Linked DNA regions of Homo sapiens: all the other regions are linked to region 2. Evidence: promoter capture Hi-C in 16 types of primary human blood cells and fetal thymus (Javierre and others, 2016). All regions are on one chromosome and are shown on one strand. Each heading gives the region's core, a stretch centred on a gene start or on the middle of the fragment in contact. The rest is flanking DNA. Distances are from core to core; before and after follow the strand shown.

Region 1 (2,700 bases), core at 188-2,687, 1.0 Mb before region 2:
TTCAGACTTCAATTCCATTAAACACACATCTATTTCCATTTTAAATCACATACAAGTGCTATGTGATCAGAGGGATGGGAAACACTAGGTAAGGCCTGGTGGGTGGTAACTTCTTCATGACTAGGTAATGGAATCACCTGTTCAACCTCTAAAGCATTTAAGTCAATGAAAATGTAATCTAGACATCCATGAAAGCCACCAACATAATTTGTGTAAGCAGGTTCACCACAAGCACTTTTCAGCTTGAAGAAATGTGTAAGAGACATATTGCATCTTTCCTCCTCCCCATTGGAAGCCCAGTCTTCATGATCCTCTGGAATGCTGCCATTGATGACAAAATGATACATTCCTGTTGATGGTGTACTATTAAAGTCCCCACAAAATATAACTGGTATGCCAGGATACAGATCACATGAAACATGTCTTATGTGAGCCAAGGCTACTGCCATTTGAATGAGGCGAATATACCCACCTATGAATATAAAAAACATTAATGTAAGTATTTTTTAAAGTTGTCTTTAAGTTAAAAAAGAAAAACTACACAAATTACAGTCTCTGGGTGACGTTCAAGATATGCATTTGTGTAAAACACTTTAAACAACTTTAAGCGTGTTTAAGTCACTTGTGATACCAAATAAAACCTACCTTTAGGATGCCAGTAAAGATGGGTATTAGCAACACATATCCTTTTAGAAGAGTCCTTTGTAGACTGAAGAACTGAAACCTAAAATAAACGGAAAGTGCCAAGAGTTCAGTTGGCATTTGCAAATCTCCTGAATGTTTTTGTTTGTTTGTTTGTTTTTTTGAGTTTTTTCGAGACAGTCTCACTCTGTCAACCAGGCTGGAGTGCAGTAGCGCGATCTCGGCTCACTGCAAGCTCCGCCTCCCGGGTTCAAGCGATTCCCCTGCCTCTGCCTCCGGAGTAGCTGGGACTACAGGCGCGTGCCACCACGCCCGGCTAATTTTTTTGTATTTGTAGTAGAGACGGGGTTTCATCGTGTTAGCCAGGATGGTCTCGATTTCCTGACTTGTGATCCACCCGCCTCGGCCTCCCAAAGTGCTGGGATTACAGGCATAAGCCACCAGGCCCGGCCTGTTTTTTATCTAAGACTAATGGCGAACTAACGTTTTCTTCCATCTCCTTCCCTTGATGAACTAGGACTGCAGTCATGAAATCCAACTTAAAGTTTCAGGATCTACATGACTAGGTTCAGTGTAACATGTTTTAATAATAGTCCAATATAGGCCGGGCGTGGTGGCTCACGCCTGTAATCCCAGCACTTTGGGAGGCTGAGGCGGGCGGATCACGAGGTCAGGAGATCGAGACCATCCTGGCTAACATGGTGAAACCCCAAACCCCGTCTCTACTAAAAAAATTAGCCGGGCGTGGTGGCACGCGCCTCTAGTCCCAGCTACTAGGGAGGCTGAGGCAGGAGAATCGCTTGAACCCGGGAGGCGGAAGTTGCGGTGAGCCGATATCGCGCCACCGTACTCCAGCCTAGGTGACAGAGACTCCGTCTCAAAATAATAATAATAATAATAATAGTCCAATATATAAAGCTAGTAATATAAACAATACATTTTACATGACAACACTTTGACTGGAGAAAGTGTTTTCAAGCGTAAGCACAGGCTTTGGAGTCAGGCAGACCTGGGTTTGAATACTCATTTCACCATTTATAGCAATGTGACCTGCAAAAAGATGCTTTTCTAGCCAGTTTCGTACTGGCAGTCACTGACAATACCATCCACCTCATGGGCTGTTGTGTGGAGTCAATTAAATGATCTTATAAGGTGCATGAAACACCTTAGGTACTTAAAAAATGGTAGCTGCTCTTCTTATTATGAACAAAATCAATTACTTAAAAACTTTAACACAAGAATGACATCTATAAAATGGGAATAGGGGACTTACTGTGAAGATTCAATGAGCCTATGATTTAAAAAAAACTAGTTTATATTTATGGAGCACTTCAAAACACACCACGCTCTTAAATTTTAAGTACTTTAAAATGTGCCAGAACAGTGCTTGGCAAGTAGTAAAAAACATTAGCTACTATTGTTCTTGCATTTAGCGTGTGTCCCTCTCGCTAGATTGTAAGCACTGTAAAAGTCCCTGCTAGTCTTGTTCAAGGCAACCTGCAGTATGGCAGGCACACCAGAGGTGTTCAAAAAATATCTGCTGAATGAATGAAGAGTAAACTTTGTGCTGAAGATACAAGGGCAAACACACCTTTCAACAATATCTGGATACTTTCATCGCACTTTTAACCCCCACCTCATTCCTCGCCTTCCTGGCCCCTAAAAGTGGGACAGTATGTGAAGAGACGGGCGGAACTACTTTACCTGAAGAACAGAAGATCTCTGGAGCACCTTCTCCTGCGCTGATGGGTACAAAACTAGTTTCTCCAGCAGTTCTTTGTGAAGTGGGTCGGACTCGAGGGCTTCGTAGAATGAAATGTCATGCTGGCTAAGAAGGCTGAACTTAGACTTTCGGTAGAAAGTGGCCAGGCCTTCGTGCTGCTTGATTCGAAACACCCCCTCGAGCCCGAAGGCCTCTAGGGCGGGTACCAAGCTGTCAGAAAACACTGCGCGGTCAACCTCCTGCAAACAGATGACATCGGCGTTGTAGCCGGTGAGTTCCTTCTGGATAAGGTTCTGGCGGTAGTCGAGCTCCAGGGCGTAGGGGGCACAGTATGG
Region 2 (2,700 bases), core at 200-2,699:
GTTATCATTAACCTGAAATCTCATTTTGTTATTGGTAAACTATAAATTAAGTTATCATACCACCATTTTTTAATAATGCTGTTACCAAAACTCCTCACATAAGTTAAAGGAACAAGATATATTTAACCGCCATTCATTAGTTTCATAATGAACTCATGACTAAAACATTCTATGGAGTGCTGGAGCATCGATATGACTACTAACAATGCCATCAAGGTTAGTAACTGCTTGAGCAAAGAGTACCACTTTCAATATTTCAAATAATACATAGTGATATTTAGTATGGTGCTTTATACGTGCATATCAGAAGCAAAGGCATAAAGTAACAGTAGCCACTGCCAACAAAACTTGAACGTCTGTTAAGGTCCTAAAACTCCACTGAGAACAAAAATGGCAGCCCATACATACAGTCCATAATTCAGAGAGAGAAAATTAAATCCAGCAAGCCAGTCAAGGGAGAGAGAGGCTGGGAAAGGTCTGATTAGGAATGCGAAATTTGCGGTGTTGCTCAGGTAGGGGAAATCAAATTACCTCACCTTAACTATTAAAGGTAAAACACTGGAAAGAATAGGTTTTACGGCTTTCCTTATTGTAGGGTTATGAACAGTTCGTGTTTATGTTGGTGAAACGTCACCAAGAAAGAAAAGAGCTTCAATGGTAAAGTACCTTCAATGACGCACTGCACTGTAATCTCCTTAAGGGACACACTATCTTATTTATTTCCATATCCCCAGATTCTAAAACATAATAACATTTGCTGAACGATGTGTAGTTAGGTCTGAGTTTGGTGGCTTCTCATCTTCTCAAAATATCAAACTTGCGAGTGATGAAGACCATGCACCAGCCCTTTTTATTTATTCACCCCTACTTAAGGAGCGCCTACTAGGTGTTAGGCACTGGTACTACATCGATTTCTTGAGAAGCCTGGTTCCCCGCCTCGTGGGCCTAAAACGAATTTGGGCGTTTCAACATTCTGCAAGACTCCAAAAACAAGGTGGCGAAGAACCCGGGGCATGGGCCAGGAGTCCTCCCCAGGAGCCGCCACGCTTCCTCTAACTGTCTCGTCATTTCTCTCCTTTCCTCCTCACCTCTCTTCCCTCCTCATCCTGAGGTAAATAAGGGACCGAAAGGGGATCACTGGCAGTTTTAATGCTAGTCATTAAGTGAAAACGTAAGGTCTGTGGAGTCGCTAAGGGCCGACCCATCTGCCTCGATCTTCTACCCGAGAACTGGGCTCTGCCCCTCTCGGCGGCGCAGGTTGGGAACGTTCTCCAGTAAAGACTCCAAGGGACAACCCAGACACACATGCCTCCCTCTCCGCTGACGACCACCTTGCTTACCCCAGCTTACCCCAGCTTACCCCTGCTTACCCCAAGTTCATGGCCTGACCTCGCACTCTCTCCACAGAACGCTCAAGCCCCTTGTGTACGTCGGTTGCCGCCGCCGCTCAGCAAGCGCTACGCCAATTGGATATAGGGGTGCCGGCGAGCTGAGCAAGTGGACCAATCAGGGTGGGGCATGCTGGCGGGTGCGCTGAGCTGGGCCGGGGCTCCCGCGGGGACGGTTGCGTATGCCGTTTGTTCCCCTTTTGTGCCCCGTTTGTGCCGTTTGTTCCCCTACGCACAGCGGAATTTGGCCTGACCCGGCTTATGAGTCTAAAGCTTCGGTGGCGGAGACCTGCGCTTCTCGCAATTGTAGCCTTCCAAAGCGCGTACACAGACACACACACACACACACACACACACACACACACACACACACACACACACACACACACACACCTTTTTGGGGTCACCATTTGCAAGTAAGTTACAGACATTGTAACACTTAACCCTTTAACATTGCAGACATTGTAACACTTAACCCTTTAACATTGCAGCATGTATCTCCTAAGAATAGATGTTCTGCTACATAACCGCAGTACAATTATTATACCTAAGATCATTAATTTCATAATAATTCTCTTCCCGATTTAATTTCCCCCACTTGTCCTAAGAATATCTTATAGGCATTTTATTTAGAAAGCAAGAGCCAATCGCGCCACTGCATTCCAGCAGCTTGGGCGACAGAGTGAGACTCCGTCTCAAAAAAAAAAAAAAAAAATGCAAGAGCCGATCAAGGATCACACATTACATTTGGTTGTTAAGTATCTTTGCACACACTCTTTCCAGACAAAAACAATGAAAGGTATTAATTATTAAATGCCTGACAAACCTTTACTTTTTTATTTTTTATTGTTGTAATATGTGTGTTAAAATTTGCTATTTTTAGCCATTTTCAAGTGACAATTCCATGATACAATGTTGTGGAATACGCCAGTATATTTTTCCAAAAGCTTTTTAGTACCCCCAAATAAAAATTCTGTACCCATTAAGCAACAACTTCCCATTTTCCTCTCCCCTCAATCCTAAGAAACCTCTAATCTTATTTCTGTCTCTAGGAATTTGCCTATTATAGATACTTCATGTCATAAAAGTGGAATCATACAATATTTGTCCTTTTGTGTCTTCTCTCAAGTAACATAATGTATTCAAGGTGCATCCATGTTGTAGGATGTATCAGAGCTTCATATCTGTTTATGATTGAATAGTATTCCATTCTATGTATATATATACCACAATTCGTTTACTCATTCATCCATTAATAGACATTTGGGTTGTTTCCATCTTTTAGTTATTGTGAATAATGCTGTAGTGAACA
Region 3 (2,700 bases), core at 47-2,546, 1.9 Mb before region 2:
CATGTGGTCTAGAAGAGAGAAGCTATAGGTTTAAAAGTGACCTAATATTAAAAAGCTGTCACAAATAGTCACAAAATCATAACATTCCTCTTAACCCTCAGTTTCCGCAAGATAAAACGGGATAATACCACCTTCCCAAAACGGGGTAATTACACCATTTAGGCACAACACAAAGGCAAAAATTGGCCTATAAGAGTAACACATCAGGACAAGGAAAGAGAACAGGTTCCCAGGGAGGTCCTGTAGTTGAATTCTGCTCCGTTACTGATTATGAGACCCTGAGAAAATCACTCTTTATGCCCAGCTTCTTCTTTGGGGAAATGGAGAAAATAAGGGAGATCATGAATATAAAACCATCTGTAAACTAGCAAGTATTAGACAAATGTGAAAACATTAGTGGCAGCAGCATAAACAAAATTTCTAGGTTAACATGAGAAACTTGAGTGTGAACACAAGTAATTTAGAGCATTGGCCTGGAGACGGCAAATATGGAGGAGGCAGCCTCTTAATTTGCTTCAAATCTCCCCAGGTCCTCCTTTTCCCAGAGCTCCAGAAGGGAGAACTATATACAGGTAAAGGGGAGTGTCTAGTTTTCCCAGAGTTCACCAAACACCTGAGCTCCTGATCTCAGAAGGAACTTCTTTAAAGCATGACTCGGGATTATCTCCAAGTTAAAGCTGAATCCAAATACATACAGGTACTCCATTTTAAATGGACCCCAAATATCAAAATCCAAGCGCACTGAAGGATTCATAGGGTTCACCCTAAGATTCCTTTAAGTAGTAATGCTTTGGTTAAAATATGATTTATGAAAATTCAAATCACAAAACTTTGGAATGGCATCCATGGCTATCCTGACCACTCCATCGTTCATATCTAAGGCATAGCACAAAATCAAGTATCAGTATGGACTGATGGTTTCGGCCAAAGAGAAAATACTCTCAACCTACCAACCCTGCTGACAAACACATTTTCCTTTTCCTAGCTACATATTCGTTCATTTGAAAACATCTCAATCTTGGGCTCAGGACTGTGCTACATGCTGTCCCCAAGCTTCTCTCCTATCCCAGGATGATTCAAGTAATAGGGCATTTGTGACAGCGAAAAAAAGAACATGCCAGGGGGATATAGAAGAGATACTTAGGCTACCCCAAATATTCTTAGCCGAGCCGGGTCATCCCAGGTCACTTTGCCACCCAAACCTCTTCTATCACAAAGTCCTAAAATTGGATCCATCAACTTGTTCTAGAACTGGTATACTTGAACAGAAACATGGTAACTTCGGCAGAATATCCAAACAGGATCTCTGTCACGTTTCATTTCCCCGTCCCACCCCCAGACACAGCCTCCACCACTGTCAGCCCAGCAGGTGCTGCCAGGGCTCCCCATTACCATGGCCATTTATCACCTCTGACATCAAGCATTAAAAACGCCACCACACACACACAAATCTAGGCATAAAGAACTCAGCTGCGATCTGAGAGTCTCTTCAGGGCAGAAAATCCCAAAGGCAGGGTTTTGAGTCCTGCCTCAAGCTTTAAACTAGGGCAATTGGTGGCTAATAAGCGCCATCTCCCAAAAACAATCATTTTCGAGCACACCCCAAATATCTCCGTCCGGGCCGCCCTTCGCTGCTGCCCCGCCAGCGAAGCCCCCGCAACCCGACCCGGCCAGGGGTAGGGCGGGCGATGCTCCGGGCCCGGACGAGGGGCGCGCCGCGGGGCTCCGAACCCGGGCCCGCAGAAACCGCGCATCCCCGCCGGGCGGGCCCCGGAACCCCCGCCCAGGCCCCGCCGCGGGCACCTCCGCTGCTGGCTCGTGCCAGCCCGGGACGCGCGGTCCCCTCAACGCGGCCCCGCCGCCGCCCCGTTCCAGGAGCCCCCGCCCAGATCCTCCTCAGCCCCGCTCCCCTGGCCGCTCGGCGCAGACGTCTCCTGAAACCCGGCCCTCCCAAACCCCGGCCCCGCAAGCCCCGCGCCAGCCCCACTCACTGCGCGGCGGCGGCGGCTGCTGCGGCCGGGCCGGGAGATGCCCGCGGCCGGAGAGCGCGAGCGCGGGGACAAGCGAGCCCGCGCCCGGCGACGGCGGCGGCGGCGGCGGCAGAGGGGACGACTGAGCCCGCGCCCGGAGTTGCGGCTCCAGCTGCCCGGCGCGGGCGGCGCCTTCCCAGCAGAGCCGCGGCGCCACGAGCGCGGGCGCCCCCTAACGGCAGCGCGGGCTGGAAGCCAGAGAGCGGGCGGCCTGAGGAACTCAGCCAGCGCAGTCGGAGCCGCGCGGTCAAGACCACACGACCGCAGCCCCGAAGCCCCGCCCCGAAGCCCCAGTCCCGCCCCTTAGGCTCCGCTCCGAAGCCCCGAAACCCCGCCCCTACGTCCCGCCTCCGCCCGCAGCCTGGGGTCCGCCCAACCCCAGGCCCACTGCGTCCTCAGGGGTGGTGCCTCCACAGCTGTTTCTCCTTAGTCATTTCACGAACTTGTATGGGCCCCCCACTATATCTCAGGCCTGGGGGTTTAGGAGATACAGCGGCCACCAAGACGGAGGCGGGTCCTAATCAAAGGAGAAGACAGACAAGACTCAAGGAAACAGCTAATAGACAAAATAATGACAAGTTATGGCCGTAAGTGTTGGGAGGGACATGATTAGAGGACTTAGATGGAGAAGAAGGGAAGGGAGCCCCTGCTCCAAACGCAGTGGCCGAGG
Region 4 (2,700 bases), core at 197-2,696, 1.0 Mb before region 2:
AAAAGAAGGAAAGAAAAAAGGAAGAGATATGGTTTCCTTAATAAGCTTGCATTCTAATGAGACATAACAATCAGCAAAAATAATTATAGTTGTACCTGGGTATTTGGGGAGATTGGTTCCAGGATCCCCGTGATACCAAAATCTGCAGATGCTCAAGGCCCTTACAGTTGCCATTCTGCATCTGCAGGTTCCACATCTGCTATTGGCTGAATCTGTGGGTTTGAAACCTGAAGATACAGGGGGTCTGCTGTCTGTACATTATTAAACCCAAGGGACTGGAATGTAAATTCCATATACATATTTGTGACTAAAAAGATCTCACTAAGAAAAATAGTCAGAGGCTGGGCGCGGTGGCTCACACCTGTAATCCCAGCATTTTGGGAGGCCGAGGTGGGTGGACCACCTAGGTCAGGAGTTCGAGACCAGCCTGGCCAACATGGTGAAACCCCCTCTCTGCTAAAAATACAAAAATTAGCCGGGCGCAGTGGCATGTGCCTGTAATTCCAGCTACCCCGGAGGCTGATACAGGAGAATCGCTGGAACCCAGGAGGCAGAGGCTACAGTGAGCCAAGATCGCCCCACTGCACTCCAGCCTAGGTGACAGAGCAAAAAAAAATAAAATAAAATAACCAGAGATGAGGAAAACATACTACCTAGTGTAGTATGTTATGAGTACATGCTTTTGAGCCTGGGCAACTTTATACAACACTGTGTTCAAAAGCGATGATTAAATGAAGTACATGGCTTAGCAAGTGATCAATAAACTATAGCAATTTTTCTTGTAGGGCTCAATTTCCTCATTTTTAAAAATAAGAAAGATTCTCTTCTGGGTTTGTATTGATGAAAGGTGAATAGAAAAATATTTTATTTTTAAAATATTTTTTAAAATAGAAATGGCATCTCACTATATTGCCAAGGCTGGTCTGGAACTTCTGGGCTCAAGTGAGTCTCCCATCTTGGCCTCCCAACATGCTGGGATTACAGGTGTGAGCCACCATGCCTGACCTAGAAAAATAAAATAAAATAAAAATAAATTTGGGGTCTGGGCACGGTGGCTCACACCTCTACTACCAACACTTTGGGAGGCCAAGGCGAGTAGATCGCCTGAGCTCAGCAGCTGGATACCAGCTTGGGCAACATGCTGGTCTCTACAAAACGCCAACTCTACCAAAAATACATAAAATAGCTGGGCATGGTGGAATATGTCTGTGGTCCCAGCTACTTGGGAGGCTGAGGCAGGAGGAAAAAGGGAGGGGAGGGGAAGGGAGAGGAGGGAAAAGGGAAGGGAAAAGGGAACAGAAGGGGGAAGGGAGGGGAAAAGGGAAAGGAAAGGAAGGGGAGGGAAGGATGAAGGAAAGAAAAGAAAGAGAAAGAAAGAAAAGAAAGGAAAGAAAGAAAAAGAAAAGAGAAAAGAAAAGAATTTGGCCGGGAACAGTGGCTCAGGCCCATAATCCCAGTACTTTGGGAGGCCAAGGCAGACAGATTGGTTGAGCTCAGGAGTTTGAGACCAGCCTTGGCAACATAGCAAAACCCTGTCTCTACAAAAAATAACACTACTTAGCCAATGTGGTGGTGTACCTGTAGTCCCAGCTACTTTGGGGGCTGAGGTGGGAGGATCACTTGATCCCAGGAGGTTGAGTAAGCCGAGATGATGCCACTGTACTTCAGCTTGGGTGACAAAGTGAGACCCTGTCTCAAATAAATAAATAAATAAATGTAAGAAGGTAGTATAGTGTAGTGGTTAAGAGTGTTAATGGCTGGGTGCACTGGCTCACACCTGTAATCCCAACACTTTGGAGGCTGAGGTGGAAGGATTGCTTGGGCCCAGGAGTTCCAGACAGGCCTGGGCAACATAGCCAGAATCCACTTATTTATTAAAAAAAAAAAAAAAAAAAGAGTGTAAATACCAGTTAATACCAGAAGAAATGGGTTCTTATAGCTGTTCCACTGCTTTTAGCTGTGTGACCTTGGGCAGAATATTTAATCTCTCTGACCCTGATTATTTTTATCTGTACAATAGAGATATTACAGTCTGCCATTAACATCCTGTTTTGTAATTTACATTAGCCACTTGATGTGTAGTGTATTCTTACTGAAAAATCTGTTTTGACAACTTTTGTTTTGGTTCAGGTTTTGGAGGCTAGAGATGGAGAACAGAATTCTTTCGATTTATTTTGCATAACTAAACAGAAAACATGGATTAAGATTTGGAATAAGTTACAGGGAGGAGGGCTCATACGGTTTGTCTTTTGAATTTAAGAAGACCCTAAGAATTAGTTGAAGATTGTTTTAAGGAATTCTACTATATAAAACTAAAAACAGACATAAGGCCTAAAGTGTGAAAGGAAAATAAATCTTGGGGCCTCCACCTCACTAAGCTAAAGAGAAAAGTCAAGCTGGGAACTGCTTAGGGCCAACCTGCCTCCCATTCTTTAAAAAGTCACCCCTCTGCTCACTGAGATAAACGCATATCTGACTGCCTCCTTTGGAGAGGCTAATCAGAAACTCAAAGGAATGCAACCATTTGTCTCTTATCTATCTATGCCCTGGAAGCTCCCTCCCCACTCAGAGTCTTCCTGCCTTTGCTTTGAGTTGTCCAGTCTTTCCAGAATGAACCAATGTTCATCTTACATATATTGATTGATGTCTCATTTCTCCCTAGAATGTATAAAACCAAACCGTGCTCTGATCACCTTGGGC

What was found. The method cuts DNA at HindIII sites, captures the fragments that hold promoters and counts their contacts. A CHiCAGO score of 5 or more calls a contact.
Region 1: a fragment that was not itself captured here is called in contact with the fragment with the promoter of CCDC66 in region 2 in 4 of 17 cell types (total CD4 T cells, activated CD4 T cells, fetal thymus and 1 more); the score reaches 6.6 in total CD4 T cells.
Region 3: a fragment that was not itself captured here is called in contact with the fragment with the promoter of CCDC66 in region 2 in 4 of 17 cell types (activated CD4 T cells, fetal thymus, naive CD8 T cells and 1 more); the score reaches 7.1 in activated CD4 T cells.
Region 4: a fragment that was not itself captured here is called in contact with the fragment with the promoter of CCDC66 in region 2 in 2 of 17 cell types (total CD8 T cells and total B cells); the score reaches 5.5 in total CD8 T cells.

What each region holds. Positions count from the first base shown.
Region 1 is chr3:57,557,334-57,560,033 of GRCh38, reverse strand. It overlaps PDE12 (phosphodiesterase 12), which reads right to left. Exons shown (of 3, transcript NM_177966.7): 1 at 2,347-2,700; 2 at 646-724; 3 at 1-472. The coding sequence ends at 30. Among named protein-coding and RNA genes, the nearest start is that of PDE12, 2.4 kb to the right of the region's middle. RefSeq lists an enhancer at 1,298-1,930. The HindIII fragment of the contact is 2,956 bases long and covers 1-2,700 here.
Region 2 is chr3:56,555,924-56,558,623 of GRCh38, reverse strand. CCDC66 (coiled-coil domain containing 66) reads right to left here and starts at 1,449. Exons shown (of 18, transcript NM_001141947.3): 1 at 1,371-1,449. The coding sequence starts at 1,381. RefSeq lists enhancers at 1,034-1,193, 662-1,333, 1,334-2,006. The HindIII fragment of the contact is 1,896 bases long and covers 1-1,663 here.
Region 3 is chr3:58,491,461-58,494,160 of GRCh38, reverse strand. KCTD6 (potassium channel tetramerization domain containing 6) reads right to left here and starts at 2,065. Exons shown (of 3, transcript NM_001128214.2): 1 at 1,992-2,065. RefSeq lists a silencer at 1,765-2,414. The HindIII fragment of the contact is 482 bases long and covers 1,056-1,537 here.
Region 4 is chr3:57,599,048-57,601,747 of GRCh38, reverse strand. ARF4-AS1 (ARF4 antisense RNA 1) reads right to left here. Exons shown (of 2, transcript NR_132370.1): 2 at 832-1,005. It also overlaps a transcript of PDE12 not described here. Among named protein-coding and RNA genes, the nearest start is that of ARF4-AS1, 2.6 kb to the right of the region's middle. The HindIII fragment of the contact is 2,797 bases long and covers 48-2,700 here.